Regions from separate parts of the Homo sapiens genome. Here region 2 is linked to region 1. The links are contacts of gene promoters, found by promoter capture Hi-C in human tissues and cell types (Jung and others, 2019). All regions are on one chromosome and are shown on one strand. The core of a region is centred on a gene start or on the middle of the fragment in contact, and the rest is flanking DNA. Distances in the headings are between cores, read along the strand shown.

Evidence for each region. The method cuts DNA at HindIII sites, captures the fragments that hold promoters and counts their contacts. A contact is called where the count stands out against the background at its distance.
Region 2: the fragment with the promoter of C3orf62 here is called in contact with the fragment with the promoter of P4HTM in region 1 in 1 of the 25 tissues and cell types used here (small bowel).

Annotation. Positions count from the first base shown.
Region 1 is chr3:48,988,493-48,993,221 of GRCh38, forward strand. It overlaps P4HTM (prolyl 4-hydroxylase, transmembrane), which reads left to right and starts at 1,749. Exons shown (of 9, transcript NM_177939.3): 1 at 1,749-2,118; 2 at 2,341-2,422. The coding sequence starts at 1,765. It overlaps LOC124909376 (a long non-coding RNA gene), which reads right to left and starts at 1,380. Exons shown (of 2, transcript XR_007095903.1): 1 at 1,056-1,380. RefSeq lists enhancers at 469-1,032, 1,033-1,595, 1,343-1,502, 2,160-2,721 and a silencer at 1,613-1,992. The HindIII fragment of the contact is 19,056 bases long and covers 1-4,729 here.
Region 2 is chr3:49,273,749-49,279,153 of GRCh38, forward strand. It overlaps C3orf62 (chromosome 3 open reading frame 62), which reads right to left and starts at 3,484. Exons shown (of 3, transcript NM_198562.3): 1 at 2,679-3,484; 2 at 301-392. The coding sequence starts at 3,124. It overlaps USP4 (ubiquitin specific peptidase 4), which reads right to left. Exons shown (of 22, transcript NM_003363.4): 21 at 5,066-5,154; 22 at 3,396-4,703. The coding sequence ends at 4,545. MIR4271 (microRNA 4271) reads left to right here and starts at 372; the gene lies at 372-438. RefSeq lists an enhancer at 3,098-3,167 and a silencer at 3,308-3,507. The HindIII fragment of the contact is 22,568 bases long and covers 1-5,405 here.

The sequences.
Region 1 (4,729 bases), core at 499-2,998:
GAAATAGTCTCAACTTCATTCCAGAAAAGGTATGAGAAAGCCATGAGATCCTTGGTAAAATTATGGTTCTGTTGGTTGGTTTATTATATTTAAGAATTTAGGAGATTTGGTCTGGGTGTGGTGCCTTATGTCTGTAATTCCAGCACTTTGGGAGGCCAAGGTGGGTGGAACACCTGAGGTCACGAGTTTGAGACCAGCCTGGCCAACATGGTGAAACCCTGTCTCTACTAAAAATATAAAAATTAGCCGGGCATTGTGGCGGGCACCTGTAGTCCCAGCTACTTGGGAGGCTGAGACAGGAGAATTGCTTGAACCCGGGAGGCGGAGCTTTCGGTGAGCTGAGATCACACCACTGTACTCCAGCCTGGCGACAGAGCGAGACTCTGTATCAAAAAAAAAAAAAAAATTATAATTAAAAAATTAAAACTAAATAATAATAAATAAAAATACAAAAAAAAAAATTGGCCCGCCATGGTGGCGCATGCCAGCTACTTGGTAGGCTGAGGCAGGAGAATTGCTTGAACCCGGAAGGCAGAGGTTGCAGTGAGCCAAGATCGCGCCACTGCACTCCAGCCTGGGCGACAGAGTGAGACTCCGTCACACACACACAAAAAATCTTAGAAGAAAGAGGTGGGCCTGCCCTTGGAGCCCCTGGCCTGCCTTGACTTGAGGGGACTAGAAAATGCAGACTATGCTTTGCTATGGGGAAGGGAGAGGAGATGGGAGTAGAGGTAGTGGGGGTCTTAACCAGGGTAGGGAGAAACCACCAGTGTGACCTGCCTTAAAAGTGTTGCTCTTGCCTGCAAGTCCACCTCGGGGAGGGGGGTCAGCTTCTGCCCTGAGGGCGTGTAGTAATCTCTTCCTGAGGATAACCAGCTCTAGAAGAGCAGGGATGCCTTGGCACTTGACCACTGGTAGGTATGTCCTCCCCCCACCCCCGTTTTTGGTGATAATCTGTTTAATTTTTCTCTGAGGTAATGGTGTCTCAGTTATGGAAGAGTCCCTTCCCGCCTCTTCACACGTGCCAGCTTTGATGCAAGGAGTGTTCCATATACCTGAGCACTGGTTCATTCCTGCGGGCTGCCATGGGGGGCTCACTTTCCTGATGCCAGGGCTCCTCCAGGATGCCCCCTCTGACGGCCTATGAAACCTTGCACATCAGGCAGCTTCTTCCTAAGGCCTGCCTGACTCCGGCGAGACTTCCCGGGAGATCCGGACCGACCGCGGAACCGAGCTCCAAGAATGCCTGCGAGGAGGCTGTGGGTCCTACCCTATCGCCGCTTACGCAGTCCCAGCCTCCGCGGCGCCCCCAAATGCCGCACTGTTGAGTCATCTCAGCGCTGCCTCCTCCGCGCTGCGCTCCCCACCCCCGCTCCTGGAGCAAGAAGATGCAGACGATACTTTTCCCGGAGGCAAGAGGGCGTCTTCACGCAGGCACCGAGAAGCTCCCACTAGTGTATGCCTTAATGGTGCCGCTCTTGTCCGCGTCTACGCTTGGGACCTTGGCTTCTGACTTGGAGAGTGTACAGCTCTGCCCGACGGCAACCCAGCTTGGGAAGAGAAGCCCCAGCGTGGGCTGGGGCTCAAGGCGCAGGAAGGCCGAGCCCGGCGCGGACGCAGGCGGCTCCGGGCGGGCTCAGCACCCCCAGGCACCGTCTCCTAGTGACCGCGGCGCTCGCGGGCCTGGCGGCCGTTGTCCGGGCGACTGCGCAGCGCGGGCACCCCCGCGGCCCCTCCCCTGGGCGCGCGCGCGACCTGGGTGCCATGGCGGCAGCGGCGGTGACAGGCCAGCGGCCTGAGACCGCGGCGGCCGAGGAGGCCTCGAGGCCGCAGTGGGCGCCGCCAGACCACTGCCAGGCTCAGGCGGCGGCCGGGCTGGGCGACGGCGAGGACGCACCGGTGCGTCCGCTGTGCAAGCCCCGCGGCATCTGCTCGCGCGCCTACTTCCTGGTGCTGATGGTGTTCGTGCACCTGTACCTGGGTAACGTGCTGGCGCTGCTGCTCTTCGTGCACTACAGCAACGGCGACGAAAGCAGCGATCCCGGGCCCCAACACCGTGCCCAGGGCCCCGGGCCCGAGCCCACCTTAGGTCCCCTCACCCGGCTGGAGGGCATCAAGGTGAGGACCTCCCTGCCCCGCCGCGCTCCAGGCCCTGCACGGCTGAGCCCGAGAGGACCGGCGCTCAGCCCGGGTCCCCACGCTGCCCCCGGCGCTGCTCTGCGTCGGTCCCGCGCGCTCCCACTCACTCGCCTGCTGTCGCTCTCCGGGCCGGGGCGACTTGGCCCTTCTTGGGCAGCGCGGTCTGGCGCCCCAGCTGCCCGCTGTGCGCCTTTTCCTTAGGTGGGGCACGAGCGTAAGGTCCAGCTGGTCACCGACAGGGATCACTTCATCCGAACCCTCAGCCTCAAGCCGCTGCTCTTCGGTAAGTCCGCCAGATACTCCTGGGAAGGGCCAGGGGCTGCGGTTTGGTGGCCACCTTGAGGCTCGTTGTGACCACGTGACCTCTATTTTGAAAATGGCTGCTTCAGAGCAGCCCTTCCAGAGGATTACCAAAGTGAAGGACCTTCCCCGTCCTCGAAATAGGGTAACACTCCCTCTTATCCCAACTCCCTGCAGTCCATTCTTCCATCACAGGGCTGGCAGGGTGAGCCTGAGGCTGGTGTCTAAACGTTTCATTGCACCTGTCTTCCGTGCCACCATTAATTCTGTCACCTTCTAGAACTGGGAGGAAGGTGGGAGACTGATAACCAGCTTTCTGCCGACCTCAGGACCTCTGGGGAAAATCCCACTGCCGAAGTGGGCCTTGTGGTCTGATGAGAAGCAGGCCGTCCAAATGTAGATAAACTGGTACCCCCCCAGCCTCCTCCACTGGAGTACCAGTCAGAGGCTCAGCTTTTGCTGCCAGCACTCTGAGATTCTTCTTAAGGTGAAGTCTTTGTTCAGCCATCATGGGCAAAGCTTTCTAGGGTGACTCCAGTTGGAGCCACAACATAGCTCATCGTTTCTGAGCTCTAGTTATGTGCTTGCCTTCATATGATTATTTCATTTAATTCCTGCAACCCCTCTGTGAAGTGGGTGTAGATCCTACTCAGGCCAGTGAGGGGGAAAGTTAGGGACAGAGAGCTGCTGTGGCTTGGCCAGGCTGACACGGTTACTTCAGTGGTGAAGCTAGGATTAGAACCCACATAGCCTGCCTCTAAGGCCTATGCAGTAAAGCCACAGTGCGAGCTGTGAAGACCCCAGAGTCCTTCAAAGACCACCAGTGTCAACTGGGTGGGGACCCCTAGTCCCATGGACATTGTCCAGGGTGTTTGTGTAGCCCAGCCCTGGGTACCTGGCCTCCGTGACAAACATATTTGCAAACCCAGGGCCATTCCTGCCTGCCGGGGGATGGAATGGGTTAGGAGCTGGGGCCAAAGTAGAACATCTGAGCACAAGTCATTACCTCCAAGGCAGAGGGTCCTGGTTGGGGATTATGCCTAGACCTGTCAGAATGATGTCATATGCATGCTGTTTGTAGGGAAATAGATTATGCTGTCAGTCCTGTTGTGGGAGAGGCACCCAAAGCTGGTTGTTGTTATTATTACTATTACTATTGAGTAACGTTGAAGTCTGTGCCAGGCACTATTTTAGGTGCCAGGAACACAGCATTGAACTAAATATAAACAATGAAACAAAACCCTGAAGCTGACATTCAAATGAAGAGGAAACAGACAATAAACAAACAAATAAATATATACATTGGTGTGTCAGATGGTGATATGTGATTGCAAACAAGTAAGGCAGATTTTTTTTCTTTTTTCTTTTTTGCCAACATAAAATAGCAGACAGGGCCGGGCGTGGTGGCTCATGTCTATAATCCCAGCACTTTGGGAGGCTGAGGCAGGCAGATCACTTCAGGTCAGGAATTTGAGGCCAGCCTGACCAACATGGTGAAATCTCATCTCTACTAAAAATACAAAAATTAGCCGGGTGTGGTGGTGTACACCTGTAATCCCAGCTGTTCAAGAGGCTGAGGCATGAGAATTACTTGAACCCAGGAGGCAGAGGTTGCAGTGAGCCAAGATCGCACCACTGCATTCCAGCCTGGGCAACAGAGAGAGACCCCTATCTCAAAGAAAAAAAAAAATAGCAGACAGTAAGGCAGAAGTTCAGCTGGGATTAGAACTCTTTTTTTTTTTTTTTTTTTTTAGACTAAGTTTCTCTCTTGTTGTCCAGGCTGGAATGCAATGGTATGATCTCAGCTCACTGCAACCTCCGCCTTCCGGGTTCAAGTGATTCTCCTGCCTCAGCCTCCCAAGTAGCTGGGATTACAGGCATGCGCCACCACATCCGGCTAATTTTTTGCATTTTTAGTAGAGACGGGCTTTCACCGTGTTAGCCAGGATGGTCTCAATCTCATGACCTCAGGTGATCTGCCCTCCTCAGCCTCCCAAAGTGCTGGGATTACAGGTGTGAACCACCATGCCTGGCTGGAACCCTTAATAAGGTAGCCAAGGTGGACCTGCCTGAAAAAAATATTTGAGCAAGGCTGGGCGCGGTGGCTCACGCCTGTAATCCCAGAACTTTGGGAGGTCGAGGCGGGTGGATCACCTGAGGTCAGGTTGTTCGGGACCAGCCTGACCAACATGGGGGAACCCCGTCTACTAAAAATACAACATTAGCAGGGCGTTGTGGCACATGCCTGTAATCCCAGCTACTTGGGAGGCTGAGGCAGGAGAATCGCTTG
Region 2 (5,405 bases), core at 2,234-4,733, 290 kb after region 1:
GGGTTCAAGCAATTCTCCTGCCTCGGCCTCCCGAGTAGCTGGGATTACCGGCGTGCACCACCACGCCTGGCTAATTTTTGTATTTTTAGTAGAGACGGGGTTTCACCATATTGGTTAGACTGGTCTTGAACTCCTGACCTCATGATTCGATCTCCTCGGCCTTCCAAAGTGCTGGGATTACAGGCATGAACCACCGTGCCTGGCCGAGAGCATTTCTTATATCTGAGATATTTGCTGACTCAGACCCATGTGAAGGACCTATCTTCCCAAGGACAGGATGGACTTGCCCACTGTACTCACCAATCATATCAAGCAGATCCTTTGTGACCTCTTGGCTAGAATTGTTGAGTGGCATGTTTGAGTCAGCCTTCAAATCTCTCTCCATATCTTTCCTGCAGCCCCCAGGTGGGGGGGAAGAAAAGGTGGGGAATTAGATTCTCTTTCAAGAAAATATTGAAGGGAAACTCAGTTTTAGATAATCTCAAAGACAAAAACTTACTGGTGACCTTGTCATTTATGCTTTGATTAAAGGACAATTGGAAACTGCTACATCAGTGGAGAAATTGACTAACAGCTTTACCATAATGACTCACGAGCATCGCAGACTGTATTAAATTTTTTTCTTTTTTAGAGACAGGGTTTAGCCATGTTGCCCAGGCTGGTCTCGAACTCCTGGGCTCAGGCGATCCACTCGCCTCAGCCTCCCAAAGTGCTGGGAATACGGGCATGAGCCACCTCACCCAGCCTGCATTTGTTTACTTATTTATTTATTTTTATTTTTTATTTATTTTTTTGAGATGAAGTCTCGCTTTGTCCCCCAGGCTGGAGTGCAATGGCGCAATCACGGCTCACTGCAACCTCTGCCTCCCAGGTTCAAGTGATTCTCCTGCCTCAGCCTCCTGAGTAGCTGGGATTACAGGCGCCTGCCACCACGCCCAGCTAATTTTTGTATTTTTAGTAGAGATGGGGGTTTCACCATGTTGGCCAGGCTGGTCTCGAACTCCTGACCTCAGGTGATCTGCCCGCCTCAGTCTTCCAAAGTGCTGGGATTACAGGAGTGAACCACCGCGCCTGGCCTGTTTGTTTTAAAGACAGAGTCTTGCTCTTGTCGCCCAGGCTGGTGTGCAAGGGCGCAATTTCGGCTCATCGCAACCTCCTTCTCCTGGGTTCAAGCGATTCTCCTGTCTCAGCCTCTGGAGCAGCTGGGATTACAGGCGGCCGCAACGGCACCCAGCTAATTTTTCTATTTTTAGTAGAGACGGGGTTTCACCATGTTGGCCAGGCTGGTCTCAAACTCCTGACCTCAGGTGATTCATCCGCCTCAGCCTCTCAAAGTGCTGGGATTCAGGCGTGAGCCACTGTGCCCAGCATTTTTTTTTTTTTAAGATGGAGTCTTGCTCTGTTGCCCAGGCTGGAGTGCCATGGCAAGATCTCAGCTCACTGCAACCTCTGCCTCCAGGATTCAAGCAATTCTCCTGCCTCGGCCTCCCAAGTAGCTGGGATCATAGGCGCGCGCCACCACGCTCGGCTTATGTTTGTATTTTTAGTGGAGACGGGGTTTCACCAGACCTCAAGCGATCCACCCACCTCAGCCTCCCAAAGTGCTGAGATTACAGGCGTGCCACCACACCCGGCAAGGCCTGCACTGCTTATGAGTACCAATATAAATATTTGTGGAGTTGAAAGGAAAAAAATTCTTGTGGAGTTGAACCAATTAAATGGCCTCTTTATCCCCTTCCTATGAAGCAGCCAAGATGGCAGAACTTTGAAGTTTTTTTTTTTTTTTTTTTTTTTTTTTTTGATACGGAGTCTCGCTCTGTCGCCCAGGCTGGAGTGCAGTGGCGTGATCTCGGCTCACTGCAAGCTCCGCCTCCCGGGTTCATGCCATTCTCCTGCCTCAGCCTCCCGAGTAGCTGGGACTACAGGCGCCCGCCACCACGCCCGGCTAATTTTTTGTATTTTTAGTAGAGACAGAGTTTCACCGTGTTAGCCAGGATGGTCTCGATCTCCTGACCTCGTGATCTGCCCGCCTCGGCCTCCCAAAGTGCTGGGATTACAAGTGTGAGCCACCGCGCCCGGCCTGAAGTTTCATCTCATACATTCATCCCTTCTCCAAGTCAAGGTGCCTGGGACCAGGCAATTTCAAGTTACTCGGGAGAAGAAAAAGTCTAGAAGAGACCTGGTGATGGTCCAAAAAGATCTGGGGTAAGAGCGGGGAGCAGAGGCAAAGATGAAGCCAGGAAGTAGGGCCCAGCCTTCAATTAAGCCTCTCCCTAATGTGGGCAAAGGAGGGTATCAAAGGCCCCAGTGTCCAGATTCAAACACAGGAGTTAAGATGGAATTAAGACTTTTGTTTCTGCAACTTAAAAAATAAGGTTATTTTTAAAACCCGGTTATTTTACATCCACTACCCCTTTGGGTACTGCAAAGTGGTTTCCATGACTGGTTTTTGACATCAACGATTGACAACTAGCCCCTCAACTGGAACATATACACAAAATATAACTGTTTCCTAGGCCAGATTCTGAAGAATGTCTGTCAACTCCCCAAATGCAGTCACAGAGCTGCCAAGAGGAGGCAAGAGCACTGTCATGAACTAAATCTAGGATCTTCAACAACTTTTTCAGAAACAAGAATCCCCTTAATTGTAGCTGTTAAACCATCAAAATTAGAATCACCTTAAATTTTCTTTTCTCCAGTTTTCCCCCTCTCCTGCAGTTCTCCAAGACTCTCTTTCAGGTGCCAAAATGGAGGAATGCATCAATACATTTTCCTTGCTGGTTAGAGGTTTTCTCTCGGGGCACAGAGCATGTGGTTTTGCATTTACCGGGGCATGGTTTGTTGCAAAGGCAGGGTTCTCATTCTCAGGAGCACATGGGACAGCAGCAAAAGGAGCAGCAGAAGAGCAGGCTGCCAGAGGATGTCTTCTGCAGAGGAGCCTGTGCACGGGCAGCGAGAAGGAGAGCGGCGCGGCGCTCAGTTCCAGCCTCTGCTGGCCTGTGCACTCCTGGGAATAACTAACTCCTTCAAAGGCCCGGTCAATGGCTGCAGTCAGTTCCTTTCTGCATCTTCTTAGTTTTTCAGACATTTCTCCTAAAAGCGACCATGTCTTTATGTAATGCATTGGAAATGCACAGGACAACACAATAATGTTACAAATGAGGCTGCAAACTACCCCTGAATGGCCACGATTTCCTGGAGCTTGGCCCTGGCTATAGCAGGACCCACAACCCTCGGGCTTTCCTCCTGGAGTAGGCGGTTCTCGGCTCTCGCGGAGGAACCCGCCATCTGCCAGAAGCCCCAAAGACGCCCCGCCCCACTTCCCACAGCTTCCTGGCCCGCCCCGCCGCTGCCTCCCGCCCCACCGCGGCTCCCAGGCCGCTGGCCCTACCGGCACCCCCCCTTTGGCGAGTCGGCAGCCACGTCCTTGTCCTCACCCGCAGCGCAGTGACGCCGACCCATCCAACGGTCATCGCATGCGCGTGCCCCGCGCAGGCCCCAAACCCCCACGGATTAGGTTGAAGGTCAGACAAAAAATCCCGGACCCATACGTCCGGTTCCTTAAGGCCTTGCCCACACGCAGCGGCTGGCCCCGCGGTGGGAGTGGGGACGGGGCTTTCGAATGGGGGCCCCGGGAAGAGTCTTGGCAGGGATGAGGAAAGAACCCGTTCTAGAAAGCATCTGGGTAACACCAAAATGTATTACTACCCTAAATCGCCATGAACTGGAGCCCTTTCCCGGCTAACTCCCACAAAGATTTCTGTTCTCAAGCCAACATGGAAACAACTAGACGGGACACAGCACCGGGCAGTTTTATGTACTGACTTCCTTTAAGCGTTATCTAATAAAAAGTGTGTTATCTAATAAAAGTTCCACACAGTATTTAACCGTCTTAATTCATCTAGGGTAGCAGGGGATATAACAGAACTGCTGGGTTCCACAGGAGGTTGAGGGGCCAGGATCCCCAACACTAGATATCTTCCTTAGCGGGGAGAAAGCTGGAAATTACAAGATGACTCAACGGAGAAATGGGCTTCAGTGGGTAACTTTCAGAAAATTATAAACCCATATCAGTGCACATAGCGAGGGAAAGGGGAGTTTACTTGAGGTTTGGGTTACTGTGAGCAGACTACTTGGGGTGACTAGTATTGGCATCAGAACCAGAAATCCAGGCGCTCAGGGCAGCCCTGCAGGTGGGGTGGGTCTCCAGGCTGCTCCATACTCAGCGCCTGTGTTCCTCTCCATTCTTCGGGATCCATCAGACATACTCCATTGAGTACCCCCATCCCACCCCCTTTTCAGCTTCACAGGTTTCACAGAAATTTCTCACCACCTGTTTAAAAATAAAAATAATTCAGCCTCTTGACATAGCTTCTTCTAGGTAAACGGTCTTCTTTTTTTTTTTTTGTTTCCTTCTGCTCATAAAAGAAGGGTATTTCCTTGTCTGGTTTTTAGACAGAACACTAGCAGTCTGCAGAGTGTCAAAGATGTTCTCCTGGGGGATTACACTGGCGCTACAGGGTGGCAGGATCGTGGAGTCAGCATTAGTTGGTGTCCATGCTGCAAGCCTCATCATCCCCAAAGCCCTGCTGAGAGCTGCTTGGTCGTGTCCCTCCATCAGAGGAACCAGAACTGCTAAGTGAAGGTGTCTTATAAAATTCATCATCTCGACGTTGGTAAAATAGCACATAAGCTGCTTTAGTCTGAAATACAAGAGGGGGAAAGACCATTCAGTGCTTGGAAAAATCACCCATTTTCCCCAGCTTTTCTCTAGCTGTCCAAAACCCTCAAGGATCTGCCATATCCACACAGAGGAGACCCTTCCACCTGAGGATGGCTGCCCCTGCCAGGCAGCAGGAAATGGAAGGAGCCTTGTGCAGAGAACTCTGAGGAGAGCTGAGCTTCTCATTTATGAAGGTCCCTGAAGGAATGCCAGCCAGCTCTGTCACACCTAGCTCCCACTATCACATCAGGATGATGAAATAACCAACTAGCCTGATAGAGGCTCTTCCCAGCTTTAATCCATAACGACATGAGGAAGAACCACATATCATGGCCTACTCACCACTATCTGATCCTCAGAGGCCAGGGACACGTTGCTATCATCAAAGTAATACCATTTACCATTCAGTTTGTTCTTCGCATATGCAGTGTCTGCCAAGTCAACAAAGAAAATACTCTAGCGGTCTCCAGAGAATTAATCTGGCTAGCTTATTAGGCTTGCACTAAATAAACACAAAAATCCCCAAAACAAAACCCCTGAAATTAAAAAAGTTTACAGTGTGTGTCTTAACAACCAAAAAACAACTCACCTTCTTTTCTAATCTGTTCCTTCTCAAAAAGGATCAAAAGGCTAAAAATGGAGCTGTCAGGGACCAAGATTTTAAACTATAATTTTGGGAAAC